2 separate regions of the Homo sapiens genome follow, and region 1 is linked to region 2. Evidence: promoter capture Hi-C in human tissues and cell types (Jung and others, 2019). All regions are on one chromosome and are shown on one strand. Each heading gives the region's core, a stretch centred on a gene start or on the middle of the fragment in contact. The rest is flanking DNA. Distances are from core to core; before and after follow the strand shown.

Region 1 (2,700 bases), core at 37-2,536, 530 kb before region 2:
AAACTTTAAGTTAATTACCAATGATATCTACGGATGTAAACAAAACACCTTCAGTCACAAGAATAGTACTTTTTGGCTGGGCACGGTGGCTCACACCTGTAATCCCAGCACTTTGGGAGGCCAAGGTGGGCAGATCACCTGAGGTTAGGAGTTCGAGACCAGCCTGGCCAACATGATGAAACCCCGTCTCTACTAAAAATACAAAAACAACTAGCCAGGCATGGTGGCGGGCACCTGTAGTCCCAGCTACTCGGGAGGCTGAGGCAGGAGAATCACTTGAACCCGGGAGGCAGAGGTTGCAGTGAGCCGAGATCACGCCACTGCACTCCAGCCTGGGCAATGGTGCAAAACTCTGTCTCAAAACAAACAAAACAACCAACCAACCAACCAACCAATAGTACTTTCCTACTTACCTCAGCTTCTTTTTCCAGCAAGATCTGGTCTTTATTCATGTCCTCATTCTCCACTTTCCTAAGAATCGAAAGAAATCAGAATCATAACACTGCAACAAATAGTTATTTGCTACCCCCCCAAAAAATTCTACTTTAAAATTTAAAATGACATGTATTTATCATTTCTCTTTTTATATTGAGATGGTGTCTCACTCTGTCGCACGGGCTGGAGTGTAGTGGCATGATCTTGGCTCACTGCAACCTCCACCTCCTAGGTTCAAGCAATTCTCCCACCTTAGCCTCCTGGGTAACTGGCATTACAGGCACGTGCTACCACGCCCAGCTAATTTTTTTTGTGTTTAGTAGAGATGGGGTTTTGCCACGTTGGCCAGGCTGGTGTTGAACCTCAAGTGATCCGCCCACCTTGGCCTCCCAAAGTGCTGGGAATACAGGCATGAGCCACCACGCCCAGCCTATCATTTTTCTAATTAAAGATATAATGAATAAAAAGGGAACAGAATGATTTTAAAAAGTTCGAACAACATGAAATGGAACATTCAAGAGACTTTTCTTACTCTAAGCTTGAGCGACAACACTTGCTGTTACCCACTCAAAAATAGGTATTATCTGAAGAATTTGCTTTGAGATGTTATTCTTTATTAATGCGAATGTAGTCACCACATTTAAGGAGCAGGATCTGCGTGAGTGAACGAGGGGCAAAGGGTAAGCTCCCCAAGCACACCTGAGAACTGTGCTCTGCAAAGCACACTAATCTCCATCTCAGGGCCAGCGCCTACTCAGCTTCCAGAGGGTGGAATTTTCTTGCTGCCTCTAAAATCTTTCTTAATGTCTCATTTCCAAACTCATAATTAGACTTCAATGTGTACAACATATGTATCTAGAAATCCATCAAATTATTAGAATGTGAGAATTTTAATGAATTACAACACAGGAAACTTTTGTTGTTGAGACAGGGTCTCACTCTGTTGCCCAGTCTGGAGCGTGGTGGTGCGACCATAGCTCACTGCAGCCTGGACCTACTGGGCTCAAGGAATCCTCCCCCTAGTAGCTGGGACCACAGGCATGCACCACCACATCTGGCTAATTTAAAAAAAATTTTTATAGAGGCGAGGTCTCCCTATGTTGCCAGGGCCGGTCTCAAACTACTGGGTTCAAGTGATCCACTTGCCTTGGCCTCCCAGAAAACTTATATAAAAACATATTAGAATGGTTAAAAAGAAAAGGTGAGTGAGGATGGCTGCAGGACTTTGCGAGGATCGAAGCTGCTGCTTCAACGGCCACTGGCTGCTTGGATGCCACTCATCCTGGCCTCACCCTTAACTCAGGTGCTGCAGTTTCCTAATGGCAACAAGTTTGTCCTCACGTACAGAGTGATGCTTTTGAAGGAGAACTCGACACAAGCCTCTGGCCTTTCCATCTAAAGTTTTTGTTTGTTTTTTGAGACAGGGTCTTGTTTTATTGCCCAGGATAAAGTGCAGTGGTGCAATTATGGCTCACTGCACCTCCCAGGCTCAACTGCTCCTCCCAACTCAGCCTCCCGAGTAGCTGGGATTATAGGTGTGTGCCACCATGCCCGGCTAAATTAATTTTTTTTTTTTTAAATTTTTGTAGAGATGGGACTTCACCATGTAATCTCATGGTCTCAAAACTCCTGCGCTCAGGCAATCTACCTTGCCTTGGTCTCCCAAGGTGCTGGGATTACAGGCATGAGCCACCGTGCCTGGCCTAAAGTTTTTACGTGCATATCATTAAATGTACTTTTTCTTAAAAAGGCTAAAAGAGCATAATTTGATTAAATTAACAACTCTTTTATAATAACTTTTGAGTAGGAAACCAAACCATGTTGCTTAATGGTCAAGAAGGCTGAGCTGAACACATAGAGGAGGAGGAACATTGTGGCTCAGGGTGACACAATACAGAGAAAGGGGCACAGTGTGATGACCTGCCGCCTCTCTTGAGTCTCTCAGAACGGAAGTTTTCATAATGAAGGTCCTGGGTCACCTCCTGGAGATCCTGCATGTGGGTGCTGAAAGAGAAGAGGAATGCACCAAGGTGGCATCATGCACATGACATTCTCATGAGAAAAAAAACCACCCATCAAGTACATAGAAGAAATAGCAGTAATTAAAATTACTTGGTAAATTGTACATAAAGCTGCTGGGATTTCAGGATAATGAGTATGGCCGTGGAAATGTCTAGTGAGGTGTAGCTCTCCCTTTCTTCCCCAATAAATGATATACAAACACAGGTCTCGACTGAGTCTCTCAGGGGGATTTCTGCTAGAGGC
Region 2 (2,700 bases), core at 177-2,676:
CTAGAAAAATGTCTATTGCCTCGAGAAATAGAGAACTTGCCAGATTAAAAAGCATGAGGAAAACGGAGGTGATAAAGACCCCAGCCCCAGAAGCCCAGATGGTTTTATTGTTTCTGCCAGGGTTAGGAAGAACAATTGATTTCTCTTTCATGCCGGCGGTTCCAGGAAATAGTGAAGGAGGAGGAGCTGTCTAGCTGGTTTCGGCGGGGCTGGGGCTGGGAGTGGGGGGCCCGTGTCTTGCAGAAGTGGATGTGAATCTCCCCCAGCCACCTGCAAGGCGCTCGCACGCAGCTGTCGGGACTGAGGTGAAGCCGGCTCTCCCAGGAGTGTGGATGAAATGGTTAACGGCGAGGCCGCTAGGGCAGCGCAGGCCCCTGCTGGGCGCCAGGGAGGCTTAGCCAGGCGACGCCAGGATGCCCATGGCAGGGGCTCGATGGCAGGGGCTGGGCTGGAGGGGACCCAGCCCCGGGGTTCAGGGTGGCCCGAAATCCGTGCACCCCCGCACCGCAGTGCGGGGAGGTTCCCATGGGCGAGCTGCCCAGAGGCTTTGTCGAAGTTGCCCAGCCCTGGGACGGTGGAGGGAGGACGGTGGCGCGCACAGAGATACCAGTCAGCCCCTGGAACTAGGAAGGCGGCTGGGGGCGGGTGACGCAGGCTGGGGTTTGCCGGGGTGGCCCCCGAGCGGCGTGTGACTTGGGGGTCCAAGGAAGTTAAACTGGACAGGCTGGGGTGAGGACAATGGGGGCCTGGAGAGGTGGGGCGAGAGGAGGGCGGGGGGTCCCCACGAGCCGCGGTAGAGGCGAGGCGGCGGGTCCGCGGGCGGGTTGCATCATCCGGCGGGGAGGGCCTGGGTCACTGCTGCTCTTCCCCCGGCGCCCCGGCCCCGACACAAGATGCGATTTCACCGCGCACCTGTTACACCCGGAGCCAGCATCCCTGGCGCAAGGAGCCCTCCCTCCCCAGCCCCGCCCGCCCCCCACGATGCGTCTGTCGCTGGCTCAGAGCGGGGGCAGGTGGACGTTTTACGATTTCACTCGAAAGGGGCCAGGGTGGGGGACGGCCCGGCGAGGGGTCCGCGGGCAAGTTCAGGTGCACGCGGGGCTTCGGGACGGGGCGCCGCCGGGTCCCTCCCCCGCGAGGTCTCAGGGGCACGCCGGGGGAGGGGACGCTGCGTCCGAGCCGGGTGTCGGTCCCCCACCCTCCGCGGGGCCCGCCGCGGTGTCAGCGGTGACGTCACAGCCCGGCCCCGGCCCCCTCCGTCCCCAGCCCCATCCCCGCGGCGGCCGCGTCGCCCGTCCCTCTCCCCGCGCGACAAACCAGCTGGCGACTGGAGCTCGGACGCCGCGCGCAGCCAACCAGCGCCTCGGGAGGGGCGCGGGGCGGTCCGGGCCGGGGGCGCGCAGCCCGTCACGCGGCGGCGCCGTCACAGCGCAGAGCAGCCGGCGAGCGGCAGCAGCTCCGGGCTCGAGAGCCCGCGCCCATGCCAGTGCCCATGCGGGGCCGCCGCCAGTGACGCCGGAGAGGTAAGGCCGCCGCCCGCCCGGCCTCCCGCGCCCGCGCCCCTCGCCCCGCACCTGCGCCCGGCAGCCCGCGCCCGCAGCCCGCACCTGCACCCACTGCGCCCAGGGCGGGGAGCTCCGGCCCGGCGCCCTTGTTGCCGCCCAAAGCGCAGGCACTGCGAGGCCCCTTCACTTCCAGACCTTCCTCCATCTCCGCAGAGAACAATGGGGGAAATTCAGGGGTGTCCGCCCTTCAGGTGCCGCTGGAAAAGGTCCCTTTGCCGCGATCTCGGCTGCAGCGGGACCCTCGGCTTAGGCGGGCGGGGGTCGCCCTCGGGAGGGCTCGCCCGGCCGGCGGGATCGGGATACCCCCGCCCTTCCCCGGCTATTCCGCTTCCCTGGAGAGGAGCCACCGGCGGGGCTGCGGGAGGGGCTGCGCCCAGACGGCGGGGGAGGGGAGGGATGGTGAGCGGGGCTGAGGACGCTGACGCCGCACCTGGGAGGGTGCGCGGCTGCAGCGCCTCGGCCCGAGGGGAGAGCGCGCAGGGCGGCCGGGCGCGGGCAGCTGCTCCGGTTCCCGGGGTGGGGGAGGGCGGATGCTGGAGCCGGGAGCAAAACAGGCGGGCGGGGCGGGGGCTGCGGCGTTGGGGCCTGGCCACCCGCTTCGTTGCACGGCCGGCCTGCCCATCACCCCCTCCCACGCCAGAGACCCCAGCTCCCTTCCAGAAAGACCCAGCACCTGGGAGGGGCCGCCGGCGAGCACTGCCTGCGTCTCAGCAGCCAGCGCCCCTGTAACAGGTGTGGCCCGGCGGCGAGGGAGGGGCTGCGGGGCCGCAGGGTCTAGGCTGGCGGCGCGCCCCCGGCGCCCGGGCTCGGATGACACGAAGGAACAGTGGCCGCGAAGACCTTCGCACTCCCGCTTTAAGCCGCTCCTCACGCTGACTTCCCCCAAACCAGCCGCGCTGCCCTCTCGCTGGGAAGGGCCGGGGCAGCATCCCCGCCGGGAGGGAGGGTCCGCAGGAGCGGGGCGCTGGGCGCCGGTAGGTGGGGTTGGGGGGGCCCTGCCGGCCGCAGGGGCGGGAGGGGGAGGGGAAGGAGGGAATGCCAAGTCATGGGGCCTGCTGGGCGCGAGCGCGACGTCGCCCGGCGCGGACCCGATGCGCGCCCACGTCCCCGGGAATAGGGACTTTCCCCCAGAGAC

The links. The method cuts DNA at HindIII sites, captures the fragments that hold promoters and counts their contacts. A contact is called where the count stands out against the background at its distance.
Region 1: a fragment that was not itself captured here is called in contact with the fragment with the promoter of KIF1A in region 2 in 1 of the 25 tissues and cell types used here (dorsolateral prefrontal cortex).

The regions. Positions count from the first base shown.
Region 1 is chr2:241,345,905-241,348,604 of GRCh38, reverse strand. SEPTIN2 (septin 2) reads right to left here. Exons shown (of 13, transcript NM_004404.5): 10 at 2,356-2,439; 11 at 414-471. Among named protein-coding and RNA genes, the nearest start is that of FARP2, 9.0 kb to the left of the region's middle. The HindIII fragment of the contact is 3,473 bases long and covers 1-2,700 here.
Region 2 is chr2:240,818,945-240,821,644 of GRCh38, reverse strand. It overlaps KIF1A (kinesin family member 1A), which reads left to right and starts at 1,426. Exons shown (of 49, transcript NM_001244008.2): 1 at 1,426-1,523. RefSeq lists an enhancer at 440-1,014. The HindIII fragment of the contact is 12,815 bases long and covers 1-2,700 here.